3 separate regions of the Homo sapiens genome follow, and regions 2 and 3 are each linked to region 1. The links are contacts of gene promoters, found by promoter capture Hi-C in blood cells and fetal thymus (Javierre and others, 2016). All regions are on one chromosome and are shown on one strand. Each heading gives the region's core, a stretch centred on a gene start or on the middle of the fragment in contact. The rest is flanking DNA. Distances are from core to core; before and after follow the strand shown.

Evidence for each region. The method cuts DNA at HindIII sites, captures the fragments that hold promoters and counts their contacts. A CHiCAGO score of 5 or more calls a contact.
Region 2: a contact is called between the fragment with the promoter of NKIRAS1 here and the fragment with the promoter of GBE1 in region 1, in 1 of 17 cell types (naive CD8 T cells). The highest score is 6.2, in naive CD8 T cells.
Region 3: a fragment that was not itself captured here is called in contact with the fragment with the promoter of GBE1 in region 1 in 1 of 17 cell types (non-activated CD4 T cells); the score reaches 5.7 in non-activated CD4 T cells.

Annotation. Positions count from the first base shown.
Region 1 is chr3:81,759,087-81,764,060 of GRCh38, forward strand. GBE1 (1,4-alpha-glucan branching enzyme 1) reads right to left here and starts at 2,559. Exons shown (of 16, transcript NM_000158.4): 1 at 2,289-2,559. The coding sequence starts at 2,431. RefSeq lists enhancers at 1,838-2,007, 2,348-2,637, 2,424-3,032 and silencers at 2,108-2,187, 2,688-2,787. The HindIII fragment of the contact is 5,689 bases long and covers 1-3,260 here.
Region 2 is chr3:23,913,346-23,918,319 of GRCh38, forward strand. It overlaps NKIRAS1 (NFKB inhibitor interacting Ras like 1), which reads right to left and starts at 3,645. Exons shown (of 5, transcript NM_020345.4): 1 at 3,439-3,645. It overlaps RPL15 (ribosomal protein L15), which reads left to right and starts at 3,787. Exons shown (of 4, transcript NM_002948.5): 1 at 3,787-3,828; 2 at 4,505-4,686. The coding sequence starts at 4,515. RefSeq lists enhancers at 3,249-4,048, 3,300-4,499, 4,429-4,528. The HindIII fragment of the contact is 19,179 bases long and covers 1-4,974 here.
Region 3 is chr3:33,405,398-33,410,371 of GRCh38, forward strand. It overlaps UBP1 (upstream binding protein 1), which reads right to left. Exons shown (of 16, transcript NM_014517.5): 6 at 4,052-4,204; 7 at 3,839-3,949; 8 at 3,293-3,400. It also overlaps a transcript of FBXL2 not described here. Among named protein-coding and RNA genes, the nearest start is that of UBP1, 33 kb to the right of the region's middle. The HindIII fragment of the contact is 1,663 bases long and covers 1,169-2,831 here.

The DNA.
Region 1 (4,974 bases), core at 1,309-3,808:
TCAGCCACTTGGAACTGTAAGTCCAATAAACCTCTTCCTTTTGTAAATTGCCCAGTCTCAGGTATGTCTTTATCAGCAGCATGAAAACGGACTAATACAGAAGGGGAAAAGGCCAAGGTAAAGAAGGGAAGGAACATCCAAAACATCCTAAGGGAACATCCAAAAAATTTCAAATCAAAAGATATCTGTTGGGGAAGGATGAGACAGTCCATCAAAGAGAAATTTCCTTCTTCATCACCTTAATTATATACTGTTGTTTGTACCTCAAATTTTCTTCACTCCTTAGTAAGCATACTTTGCACCTAAGTGTTTGACTGGTTATGTATTTGTGTTAGGCCAAAGACACACAGTCCAAATGGATTATCAGAAATAAATGGAAAATTGGACAAGGAACTAAGACCAGATTGTATGAAGGAAAAATGTTTTATTCTTCAAGTGTTAACAATAGAAGTTACCACTAACAAATGCCAAATTACTATTTGATATGCCTAAATGGAACATGTATGCTAGCAAATGGCCATTACTCAGAACCAAGGACAAAAGTAAAATCCGGGTCAGAGTGAGGCATGAGGGCCCACTGGACGAGACTTTTCACCAAGCACACTGGATTCTCTTCCCTTCTTTATCTTGGCCTTTGTTCCCTTCATTAGTTTTGGCAAACCATGAAAGAAGATTATAAATGCTTCAATCCCAGTGGAGTTGGAAATAAAGTACATGAAAGAAACACTTAATAAAGAATGTTAATCTGTTTGTGTCATTTAAAAAAAAAAGGAAGGGGGTGTAGATAAAACATTTCCACAACTCTTCTTTAATAAATATCTTAAGTGTCCTTTTACAAAGCACACAGGTAAATTAATGTCATGGTTACAAGGACATCAAAAAAAAAATCTAACCACTACCTTTAATCACTATCTTTTGTTCTAAATTTTTTCTGACTATTTCTAAATCAAATCCAACCTTAAACCTATGACGATTATGCACTAAGTTTCTCTGAAAGCATATACTGTAAATTCTGAAAACAATTTCACAAGGCTGCTCCTCATATGGTTTATATAAGAGCATAATCATCTGATTAAGTGAGGGACAGCTCAAGGTGATTATTTTACAGAGGCCTCATTCACTACTATATACAAGCTCAAGAATGAAACTTCACATCCCTTACAATCCCTAGAGCAGTGTTTTATTTATAGGAGTTCCTCAATAAACACTTGCTGATTTGAATGCATTTAATACCTGAAAATGCTAGGACACAAACAATTTGCTGGGCTTTTTTCAAACTCCAAATCAACCCATTTTCATTACTCTCAACGCTCCTTCATGCCAGTTAACTAGTTGGATGTTTTCCATCACTCGAAAAATTGGCCATGTATATTCTGTTGCCAGGATAGTTTCCATTCTGCAGTGTCTCTCCTAAAAGGGGAGAAACTATTAAATCAAAATGGGGTAACCTCACAAGTATAACTATTACAACTTGTATAATAGCTCTTTTACTTCAAACAACAACGACAACAGAAAAAGACCTGTACCTTTTTAGTGGAACTTATGAATAGAATTATTAGCCCAGTAACTAAAGTTGTATGGTACACAATGGTAGAAGACAAGCTAAAACGACATTGGCCTGTAAAAGTTGCTTTCCTGACCTTTCTCCCTCTTCAAGATGGTTAAAGTCACACACGGACAAATGTTGATGTACATTTAACTTCTCAATGTTGATCCAAGGGGAGAAAAAATTGATCAATGTAGGTGTAATCTTCCCCTAAATGAGGAATATTAGCAAGGAAAAAACAAAAGGATATAGTGTCTGCCTGAAGGAATCCTCTTAGATATAAAATCACAACATTTGCTATGAAATAAACTAGAAAGTTTTAAATGCGTAATTACACGTGCCAGGAGTTATGCCCACGTTACTCCACAGGCCCACGCTAGTGGGTGCCAAAGTCAGAAAACCTGCAGCGGCGGTGAGTCACTCCCCAGCAGCACTCTGGGGAATAAGTGTTGGAGCCACAGCACGTACCCTATGGCGCAAGACCGCTGATTAGAACAGAGGGGAAAGGGGATGAGGAAAGAAGTTTCTTCAGCGCCCGCTCCGGGCACCAGCGCTGTCAAACCTGCCACTACGGAAGCCACAGAACCCGGTTACCCGAGTCACCCCGAGCCCCGCCCACTCAGGTTCCTCCCCGCCTGGGGCGGGGTTGGCGCGCGAGGGCCGAGGGGCGGCCCGTGTCCCGAGACGGCTCCTGGGAGGCGGGCTGCCTGTCTAAGTGGGGGTGGTGGGATTCCGGCGGTACCTGCGCTGGAAGTCCACGGCGTAGGGCTTCAAGTACGGGTCGATCTCCAGGAGTCTGGCCAGTTCGGGCACGTCAGCCAGGGCGGCATTGAGCGCCGCCTCGTAGTCCTCGGGCCGAGCCGCGGGAGTCATCGGAGCCGCCATATTCCGCCGCAGTCCAAGTAGCCGAGGCCCGAGAGGTCGAGTGGGGCCTGAGCGGGCGCTGGAGCTCTAGCTGGGACGCGGCGGCTAGGGCGGAGCCGGAGGGCGCCTAGGCGTGTCGAGGCAAGCCGAGGCGAGCCGCGGCGGTCCGGGGCCCTTTATAGCCGGGACGGAAGGCCTCCTGCCCTTTCTCCCCCCGCCAGCGGGGAGGAGCGGATCCCGGGGTGATGCCGGGACGCACGTCCGGAGCGGGTAGGAGGCACCGAGGCCTCTCCGCCCACTCACGCGGCTGGCACCTGGAGGCCGCAGGGACCTGCCCTTTCCTCCCCTTAACGGTTTTTTCCTGCTGGCGGAGGTCATTCTAGGAGGTGGGTCCCAAGCTGACCTCGCTCAGCCTTGGCCTTCCTCACCCTGACATATTCTTGGCTTTTCTTTACCCACTTAAGCACCCACTGACAGCGACCCCTTCAAATTGGACATAAGGGGTTTTTTTGGAAAGGACCGTATTTCTCAAAGTTCTGAGACTTTTGAGGGGCAGTATTTCAAACATATCATGTAAATTCACAGAGAGGGGAACAGTCAAGTGTAGCTAGAGTACTACTGCTGAAAATGTTAATACCTCTTACAACCAGGACTCTCCTAAGTTTGCCAGGTCACGTGAATTTAAAATTAACCAAGACACAGAATCCTGGAATACCGTTGGAATTCTGCTGTTCTGGTACTCTTTTCTGCATTACCAACAGCTAAGAATTTTAGCCATGGGAAGAACTTTTCTCATTCTCCGTAAGGCCAAAAAGGAAAAGGCATTTGCCTGTGTTTATAATTGTTAACAAGCTTTTCAACGATTAAACTACCTTTGATAACACAAATGATATCATTGAATTGGAACTCCACTCTGCCACTTACAGTGATAAGGCAAGAAACCTCTCTTCCTCTTGGCTTGGGAAGCTCCCACTTGGAATTCCCTTCTTTTATTGCCATTAACTGACTAGCTTCTATTTCAATAATTGCTTTTTAGGAATACAGAGTTGGACTCCAAGAGAGATGGACCCACCAAACCCAGGAGGGTCCAAGCTGCTTTACACCTAGAAACTAGAGAGGATTGAGGATATTTTTCTTGTTAAAACCCAGAACTGGAGGATCCTAGGGGTTATGGAGGAGAAACAGTATTAATCAGCCGTGGGCCTTGAATTTTAAAATATTTCAAAGGAAAGTTTTTATAAGGGGTTTCATAGACTTGAAAGATAAGTGGATATGAAGACAGACCTCAGTGTGAAAAAGTGAAGGACTTGAACGACTTTAAGACGTGCCTTGTTTTCCATAAAGATGACAAAAAACTGCTGCAGACATTTGTAAAATATAAAGCACTAAAAAAGGAAGAAAATTAAAAAAAAATAAAAACCCGAAGCAGGACAACTATTAATAACAGACCCACAGATCTACATCTCCAAGCCTAAACTTTTTTCAGAAACCCAGGCTTGTATCACTGCCTGTCTACTGAGATTTCCATTTAGCTGGCTAGGAGACCTAAACAAACTGTCTGCAAAACGTGACCTAGAATCCGTCTTCTCATCCTTCCTGCTGTCACTCTTATGCAGGCCACTGTTTTCCTTCACTTGGACCAGAATGTAGCTCTCTAACTGACTTCCCCTCTTCTACTCTTTCTCACCTCTACTCCATTCTCTGTACCAGTGTTTCTCACACTTTAATGTGCATATGAATCACCTAGGGATCTTAATTGAGTTCCGATGTGGTGCTTCAGATTGCATTTTTAACAAGCTCAGAAGTGATTCTGATGCTGGTGGTTGGGGACACAGTTTGGTGAGACTCTACACTGAGTAAATCAGACGATGTCATTTAGCAACTTAAATAGCATAGTATTTCACTTAGGGTAAAATAGAAACAGCTTATCATTCTCTAACAAGGCTTGTATAATCTGGACCCTGACTACCTTTCCAGCCACTTTTCTCATCATTTTCCAGTTTTACTATGCTCTAGTCACACTGACTTTCCTGGAACTCAGTGAATTTGTTGTATAATAGCCTCTAAGATTATTTGCTTGCTGTTCTCTCTGTTGGAAATTTTCAGGGAGCTGAGCTCTACTTGCTTAATTTTTTCCAAGCCTTCATTCCAGCCTCAGCAAAAATGTCACCTCATACCTGAGAAACTTCTGATTATAGACTCCTCAGTGTCTTCTGTATAACTTCAATCTCTTCTATGCAACAGTTAACAGAATCTAGGTGTTTGTTTTTCTCCTATTTATTGACCTTTCCCTTTAGAACCTAAGCTCCCCACGAGCACGATCCTAGCGTACATATCTGCCTACCTAGGTGGTTCACCATTGAGCACATATTTATTGAAGTCCCATGTGCCGGCCATTTTCCCACGTACTGTGGATAAATGATAAGACAAGTCCCAGTTGTCATACTCTATTGGGGGTAGGAGGGAGAGGAGACACAATTACCAGTGAAATACATAAAATAATACAAAACAATGTCAGATAGTGGTAAGTGCATTGTCGAGAATTAAAACTGAGCAAATATCTG
Region 2 (4,974 bases), core at 2,395-4,894, about 58 Mb before region 1:
CTCATTAAATATTTTACACTATCAAAAAGAAAACAAAGATGAAAAGATAAGTGTGATTAATCAAAGCAGGCTGAAATATTCTAGGTTCCTGGTTGCCTTCCAAATAGGAAACAATACCACTACATAAAGCAGATGAGTGCCTTGCTACCATCAATTACAAAGTTAAGAATTCTTTAAAAAATAATTAACATTTTGAATAAATAACACATACACAAAAATACTTTATTTTCTATAAATGATCGCTATGGCAGGAACTCACATTACAAATAAGTGGTTCTCATGCTTAGATATTTTCAGATTTACAAATAAAAACTACTAAAAGTTTGGTTCTTAAAGCACTTATAATTATTTAATAATTCCCAAACACAATAAATGTACACCAGTTCCTGCGAAATATACAAAGGTGGTCATCTGCAGTACCCTGAATGGGCACTGAATCACATGAACCGATCCTGGGGTAACCAAGCCTCTTACTTAAATCTAGGTTTCAAGAATTTGAAAGGCTCTGTAGTACATGGGTCACCTTTAGGTTCCTTTCAACACTGTGATGCCATGATATTAGAAGTTGCTTATCCAGAGAATACATCAACACTGAGGTGAACACAAAAAGCAGTAGTTACAGCTACTTGTCACATCCCTACCCTAAGAAACTGGGCAATAAAATTCAATCTGTGACCTATTAAACCTCACCTGATGTAAATTACTAAGAGAACGTGCTTAATAGGCAAGATTCAGGGCAGTCTTAAATACTTATTGCTTTACTTTCCAGGCTAATCAATAACATTGCTAGAGAATAAATACAACCTCCTCTCTCCAACTTGAGGCTAAAAAAAAAAAAAAACAGAGAGTAAATATATGACCTGGTCCATTCCTGTGAAATGCTTTGTCAACATTTTCTTTGAAGAGCCATCAGAAACAGCTCCCCAAAACCGTTATTGCTTCTGTTCTTCTATGTAAGTGGGCCATTCTATTTTTATAAGTAAAACACAACTTTCTGACGCAACCAGAAAAACAATACCAAAACACTGTTAACATCATAGGAGAGATGTTATAAATCTCTAAAAATACTGTCATGTGGGGAAACCACCTACACTGTGTATTTACTTATGTCAACATTATGTATAGTGTGGAATACTTTCACTTATCCATATATGAATATATTTACATACATAAAAATATATTCAACAGGTTTTGCACACAGTATTGCACAAAATAAAATGTAATAAAGCAGATTCTAGCTTACCATTCTTTTATTCATTTACCAAACATTTACTGAGGGCCTGCCATCATGCCAGCCATCAGGGACAAACTAGGGGGCAAAAACAGAAATCATCCCTTGTCCTCAGGAATCTCAAAATCAACTGGAAACACAAATCCAAATCTTGTAAAACTGTTAACTGAGAAACTACAAATTGAGAAACAAAACTGCAAATGTGATTGATAAATTAGCAGTGATTATTCACACTACTAGAATTGTTTTTCCAAATGATTCATCCAACTTTTTAAATTTTATTTTTACTGCTCCTTTAGGAGCAGGACTACGCCCATAGGCAGCGTACCTACAGTAGCACATTCAACTTTTTAGTCATCCTCACCTTTGAAATACATACAGGGCTGCACTACTTACCATTTTCATCACTACTGAAGTGGTCTGGGTGAGGCACCATGTTCTCTCACCTGGTCTCTCAAAGATATCGTAATCCCCCAAACCTGTGAATATGTTTACTTTACATACTCATACAAGAATTTTGCGGGGGTGATTAAATTAAGAACTTCCATACGAAGATATTATCCTGAATTATCTAGGTGGGCCCAGTGTAATCACAAGTGTCTTTATAAGAGACACACAGGAGTGCTGGAGAGGACAGAAGGTGTAATTGGAAGATGCTCCTTTGCTGGCTGTGAAGATGAAGGAAGCAGTCAGGAGCCAAGGAATTCAGGCAGGCTTCATAAGGTGGAAAAGCCAAGGAAATAAATGTACTCTCCCCTAGTACCTCCAGAAGGAACACAGCCCTACTGACTTTGGTTTTAGCTTGGTGATATTTACAGATTTACAGACCTAGTCTGATGTACAAACTAAAAGACGGTAAATTTGTATTATTAACCAACAAAGTTGCTGAAATTTGTTACAGGAGCAATGGAAGACTAACACAATTTCCTAAGCAGTCTCTCTGCTTCCATTTTTTCTCTCCTTTTAGCCTCAAAAGGAGCAATCCGAGTTATCTTTTTAAAATGTACGCCATATGAAGTCATCCTTCTGTTCAAAATCTGCCAATGAAATCCAAAGTCCATGTGAGAACCTTCACCTCTCCGACGTCATTTCCCACTTTCCCCTACTGTGAATTTCAGCCACACTGCTTCCCTGCTGTTCCTCTATTAATCTTGCATGCTCCAGTCATGGCTCTTCTCCCTCTGCCTGAATCAGACCCCTACTCTTACTCCCAGACTCCTATCCTTGAAGTCCTTTCTTAAATGTTACCTTCTCTCAAAGACTTAACCTGGACACTCCATTCCAAATTGCAACCCTCAGCCGCTAACACTCCCTCATCACTTCCCTCCCCTTATCTTTTTTCCTTAGCATTTACCACCAAACCCAAAACACAGCTTACTTCTGCTTACTGCCCATTTCCAAGAAGGCCAAAAATTCTGCGTTGTTTCCTGCTGCATCCCCAGCAACTATGCCTGGCACATATTAGACACTTAATAAATATTTGTTGAATCAATCAATGAACCAGATAGAGACTCTTAAAAACGTAAAGCTGTGATTTAAAAAGAAAGAAAGAAAAATATGATGTGGGAAAAAAGATAATCAAAACCGCTACGATTAAGAGATAATGATTCTCTTAAGCCTTTGCCACATCTGAACGCATAATCTGGAAGGAAATTAAAGCCACATGACTTAAATTAAAGCCAAGTGAAAATATTCTGGAGAAACAAAGTAAGCCAGTAACCTATTTCTCAATTTAAAAAAAAACCCGCAACGCAAAATGCCAGCATTTTCTCGGCATTTCTTCTCTAAAACATTCACACCTGCCAAACAGGTCTTGGCAAATAAACATTCTGCTCTTCTGAAAAACTGTGGTTCTCATGTTAGCAAATTTGGGACGAAATCCGTATGCAGAAAAAGCGCCGGGCCGCCCGCAATCCACCCACTCCATGACCCTTTTTTAGGACAAAATCCCTGGGCGCTGGGGCCTGCTGGAGGAGCTTCACGCAGTCTGGAGCTGAAGGGACACAGCGAGCGCCCCGACCCGCGACGCCCCGACTCCGCGAAGGCCTCCCTGGGAGGCTGGGGAAGCGTCGGGGGATCTCTCAGCGCAGCTCTGGGGCCCAGATTTCTGCGCCCGTCGTGCGGTGGCCAGAGAGGGACAGCGCAGCGCGGAGACGCGGAGACGCAGAGACTCCGCAGGGGGAGAGCCCGCGGTGCGTGAAACAAACCTGTTCTCTCCTCAGACCTCAAAGACAGCGGCTCCACCGCGGTACGCGGCCACCGGCTTTGGAGCCTGGACCCCAACTTGCCTCCTCTCGCGGAGAGACAGTCGCCGACGCTCGCTTAGCCGCCGAGACCTCGCCGCCAACTCTCTCACCTCTCGAGACGCCCAGGCCGCTCAGGCTCGAATCTTGCGGAGCAGGGGGCGGGACAATAGCGGCCGCGGCGCCCCACTCGGCAGAACTCCGCCACCAGGCGCGATGCCGGAACTACATGTCCCATGACGCTCTGGGAGGCCGCAGCTTTCCACCGGAAAGAGGGTGGCTGAGGTGGGGGAGGAGCCCAAAAGGCATTGTGGGAGTACAGCTCTTTCCTTTCCGTCTGGCGGCAGCCATCAGGTAGGCTGCGTTGAGGATCTTTGCTCTTCCATCCGCCTTTGATCGTCTTCCTCTTCAGCCATCCAGGTCCGGGGACCCTGCGTCCTCGGAGATAGGTCTCCCTCCTGTGCGGCCAGAGTTTGGTCAGGATGCGGGACAGCAAAGGGGTGGAGAGGCGGCCCCCGGGGCGGGTTGAGCGAAGATGTGATGGCGGCGCGAATTCGAGCTGGGCCCGGATCCTGGAGGAGGCGTGGGGCTGACGAATGGGGCGCCCGGGACAAGGCAGCCTAAAGTGAGGCTGCTGGTTGGGTGGGGTAGATGCATTTTCCTCGAGAGTTAATCCTCGGTGGCCGCAGCAGTACCTTGTCCTGTGATGTCAGCGGCATCTCCTTTCAGGTCCTCCTTGGGGACGCCGCCTGCCGCAGCCACCCGCCCCCTTGGTGCTCAGTTCTGGTTCTGTTAATTCGCCCCACCAAAACGTGCCGAGCACCGCTCTGTGCTGGGGTTGCGGAAGTGACTGAACGCGGCTCCGTGGGCGCAGTGGTGGGGGTTGGGCTAGCTGTCCCCGGCAGTTGGTGCAGAGCCATTTTCATTCCCGGCGGTTTCCTTGTTTTTGTTGGGGAACTAAGATGGACGGATACAGTCGTCTTATTGTACTTAAAGCGGATGATATTTAATACACAGTTTGATTTCACAGGTAAGCCAAGATGGGTGCATACAAGTACATCCAGGAGCTATGGAGAAAGAAGCAGTCTGATGTCATGCGCTTTCTTCTGAGGGTCCGCTGCTGGCAGTACCGCCAGCTCTCTGCTCTCCACAGGGCTCCCCGCCCCACCCGGCCTGATAAAGCGCGCCGACTGGGCTACAAGGCCAAGCAAGGTACGTGATCGACTGCGTGGATGCTTGGATAAAATTATATTCGAGAAAAGTTGGAAACCAGCTGTTAGGAAGACACTGCTGCCTCAGTGTCTTTCTTCGCATAGGGCTTTGGCAGAAAAAAGCTAGCAACACTGGTCAGTTACTGTATGCACTGTTGTCTAAAGTGGCAAGTGTGTCAAAGGTTACAAATCTGAATGAGTTCAGACTAAAGCAAAATAAACAGTGTGCCTCCCTGTGTGAGTAGCCTAAGGTGCATTGAAAAAGACTGGGATGTGTTTTATTTTTTTC
Region 3 (4,974 bases), core at 750-3,249, about 48 Mb before region 1:
TTAAATTGTAAACGCAAATCACCACCACGCCAGAACATTGCCTCCTTTGCAGCTATTTAAATTTATGATGAAAAAACTTTATGATGAAAACTTTCAGATGTCAATCTGGAAAGGTGCAAGTATATCCTTTTTCAAAATTCTTTTGAGGCCAGGTATGGTGGCTCATGCCTATAATCCCAGCACTTTCGGAGGCCAAGGTGGGAGGATCATTCTGAGGCCAGGAGTTGGGGATCAGCCTGAGGAACACAGCGAGAACCTGTCTCAAGTGTCTTGGATCACTTGAGCCAAGGAGTTTGAGGTTGCAGTGAACTTTGATCACACTACTGCACTCCAGGCCCAGGTGACTGGGCAAGACACTGTCTCTAAAAAAATTTAAAAATTATTTTGAGTAGGTAAGTGTCAAGACCACTGGTGTAATGGAGCTAAGAAACTGTGAAGCACACTGAGGGCAGAAATTAAGTCTCACCAATGGCTACAGGGGCTTAAAACGCTTGTCTGACATCCATCAAAAGCAATGGATACATGGAAAATAATCTCAACTACCCAATTATGTATCTCCTTAAAAAAGAAAAATGATTGCAGACTTATTACTTCTATTATCAGTCAGCTTTCAAAAAAGAAATCTAATTTAGCTGGAGAGCTTTGAATAAACTTATTGCATGGCATAGCAACTTTGCTATAAATTACATTTTACACAACAATGCCCATTCTTTTAAAATTAGGGCCTTTTAAGCCAGGTGTGATGGCACACACACACCTGTGGTCCAACTACTCAGAAGTCTGAGGCAGGAGGACTGCTTGAGGAGATTGAGGTCAGCCTTGGCAATACAGTGAAAGCCCATCTCAAAAAAATAAATAAATAACTAAAAAACTAGACCCTTGTTTTTCTTTCCACCTTACAAAGTATCACCTCCTCAGTTTACACTGTTTGATGAACCCAAGACCCTGTGAGCTGACTAGCAAATCTAATCATGGGTATCACACACTGTCACCTCACCTCTACTATCTGAAAGATTTTCCTGCTACAACATCCCCCTGCACATATAAAACATAACACAGCATAACATACATGTATAAATAATGTAAACCATTTAATATTAAAAGTATCAAGTCTCTCTAAACTTTTTGTAATTATTGCCAGCCATTTGAAGAAATGAAGCCATCAAAAAGCTTCAAGTTAGCATGGCAGAGTAATGTAGAAACACCAAGTTTACCAAAACTCCATAAATACCCATTTTGCTTTTAGATATTTAGATTCTTCTAACATTCGAAAAGCAAGCGATGGTGCAGTGCCTATGCTCCTGAATTCATAACGGCGCTAGCAATGCCTGGCCTGGGCTCATAGTTATGGTTTCGGTACACTGTGAACACAGTCCCTCCCCAGGTAAAGAATGATCACCCATTTTAGGCTGTAGAAATTGGCAGTCATCATTTGAGCCAATCATATACAGCTCAGAGATGAAGACCAACAGACACACTAAGAGTTTTGTTGTACGGCATCTCCTGGTAACCAACAGTAGTGACTATTCAGTGTGGCACCATTTCATTCGGCATCTTTTCGACTCTAACAGTAAGTCTGGATATCCCTTTTTACTGAAAGCCAATTGTAACTAGCCAAAAACTCTATGAAATGTTGGCCTTCCTTTGTAGGAGTTTGAAGAAACATATGAAATTCTGCAAACTTTCCTTTTTAAGTGACAATCTGTACCCTGCATTTTTAAAAACAGGTTTTCAAGATGAGCTCTAACCACCCCTAAAAGCATCTGAACAAAATCAAATACAGCCAGGGCAGTAAGCAATACATGAGGAAGATGTGAAATCCCAGGCCAGTGAACTGCTGACGTTTTGCATACTTTAGACTTAAGAATCATTAAGAATTTACCAACAGTTTTCCCATCTTCAGATTACCTCTGGGCTATAATGAATTTCTTTTATTTAGGAATTACCAGAACCTACTTCTTTATTAGTTAAATGGTTTATAACAGGAGAGGAAAAGTGAGTTGCCAGAATCCCCCCCAAAGAAGTTTACTAAGAACCATTGGTGGGTCTTCAGCTGAGAAATCAGAAGAGGATAAAAACAAAATTGCTGGGGCGGGTGTTTTAGGAAAGAATATACAGCTGTTTTAACAATCTTTGATTCGAATTTATTTAAAAAAAAAAAAAAAAGCCCAGTTAAAGAAAATGTAACGTGTGCTTCCAGTGGCACTAGGATGAGTACAATTTCAGTTTCATTGCATAGAGAAGCATTAAAACATTTTTATTCGATACTATAATTGGAAATGAGTTTCTTGTGATAGTGCTTGTGACAGTAACATTCAAAGTCTACATTTAACCACAGCAATTGCGATATGTGTAAGAATGAAAAATCCTCTGGTACTTTAATAGTGCAAAGACTGCAACAGTGAATACAGCAGTCACGAATACATATGATGACAATTATTTTAAATGATTCTTTAATGTTCTGTGTTTATATTTACTGAAGGTATGTAGCTGATCTAAGTTTGCAAAGCAGGATCATCGTTTGTGGACTAATAGATGAAGAGTCATGTCATAAAATAAAGATTTGCTATACTTAACTGGACAAAGCACATATTCAACCAGATGCCCCCTGACTGCATATTGGGGGCGGCCCAGGTCTAGGTGTAGCAAGGTACACTACTTTGGCCTGAAGCATTAATTCACAATGCAACTGCCAAGAAGAAACATGAATCCCATCAGAGTTTTTTTTTTTCTACCAGTGCTGCCAAACAGGCTCTTAGAAGCATAGACAGACACACATTTTTATACTACATGCAGAAAAATGTAACAAAGAACTGCACGTGTTAATGTCAAGCTTGCTGCCATCATCTAACTGTCCACAAAATTTTATCAAGTATACACATGAGAAAGCAAGACCCTTTTCAGTTACACAAAAATAATAGCTAATTTACTAAAGAAAGTATTTTCAATTAATTTCAGTGCTCTTGAAGGAGGTGTGTGTGTGAAGGAGAGAGGGAGGGAAGGAGGAAGGGAAGGAGTCAGGGAGGGAATACATATCTCTGAGTGTCTTTTTTTCCCTCCAAAACCACCCAATATGGTCAACATTGTTTTTTGCTTTGTTTTAAAGTGTTAGATTTAGGAAATTTTCCTCAGTGAGGAACAAACAGAAGCAGGAAGTCTAAACAAAAGCAAATTAAATCAAGACATGGACATCAAAAACAATTTTGGCTTTACTTTGCGGTGGAAGTTGGTCCTATATCTAACACTGCACAAGGTTTCTTGCACAATGAAAAGAGAAGCAGAAGTCCCTTACACTGCCTCGCTTTGCCAGAGAATCACCGTAGTCTGCTGGCAAAGTCCGCTTGCTGGACTTTTTCTGCTCATGTTCAACTGCATCTTCAATTATAGGCTCAAGCCTCATCTGGACAAACACCAAAGATTGGGATCAATGTCTTTTCATTATACAAAGAAAGATCTAACACCCTGTTTCATGTCTCTTCAGTCCAATTAAACAAATGCATGACTAACAGGATTCAAAGTTAAAAAAAATGCAAAACCCCAGCAGTGACAAAAATTGGACTTTCTAGGCTCCAACTTAAGTCTCTTGCCAACTTCAAAGTTTTTAAGGTCTGTTTCTAAGACCTCATTGGGATTTCAGCATCTTCATTTAAGATCCCACCCAGGAAACAGTCTATCAAAATCCCCAAATTTAAATATTTTCCCCAGAAATTTCACAGAGAATAACATGTCAAACTGCCACCCAATCTTCCCCAACCCTTTTGTAGCAGAACTCATCTTAGAAATAGACTAATATGCAACCTTTGCTTCTCTTCCAAAACCAAATGCTTTACTACATTACCTCTGTGAGGATTGTGGTATCATAGGACGGCTGATACTTTTCTTTTTCATGAGCTGTTCTCTTCTCCATCTTCTCTCGGTCAGTTTTTTGTTTCCTGTCTGCACCTTTAGGCTTAAAAACAAAGTATACTATTTCATCTATCAGGCTGCAGACACACAGCTTTACAGGCAAAACTGAGCCTTAATTACAGAAAACCCGGGTTCTCTGTCTTACCTTAAAAACTTTGATTTGGCAGCTAGCTGAGTGTAGATGATCTGTGTATTCTCCATTTTCATTCTGCTTAAAGGTGTCAACCTGGATCCTAAAGGGCACTCCCTTTTCACCTCCGTGCTTCCGTGGAGTAAATTCTGTGCTGATGCAGTGTACCTATAAAACGATTCAGGCTGAAATGGATTCAAAGAACTTCCACTGGTTATTTTTCTATTTTGTTCCCTCTTGAGTGACCTGACACCACTATAAATTCAAGATCCTTTAAAATAAACTCATCACACATATTAGCCAAATTATCTATGAACCTAATTGTTTTTAAGATATGGCTTCCCTCTCACAAATCCAACTGAGCCTCTCCAGACTTTCTGAGCTCTTGCCCATCACAGTGCCTCTCCTCTAATGCAGGACTTGGGTCCAATCAGGGGTACAACACTACAGTAGCTTCCTATGTATACTGCCCACCTCCACCTTGGACTGTCTGCTCATCTCAGACCCAGGGTACTAAGCCCTGTTCAATCCACAGCAATCTTCACTTCATTGTTTAGAGCTTCTGTTGTTTGCCCTCTACTGCCATTACCCCTATTCTACCCAGCCAACTATCTTACTGCTGTTCCTACAGATGCCAATTTGTGATACTTTGCCTGGGGAAATTTTACAGTCCAGAAAACCCACTACCCATCCTATTCTGTATCCATCTAAACTCTTTGGTCAACTCTTCAAAGTCCATTCAGGATCCAGAGGGCAATACTCATCTTCCACCACTCCTGCCCTGTCTCCTAATACCCACCCTGGATGACAGCCTTAGGGTTTCACACAGAGTTAACAGCAAGACCTTGGTCATTTCTGACTGCTGCACATCCCCCTCTTCTAATGACTCACTATTAAAACTGATCTCTGCAATATGACAACACAACCTGATATGTAAA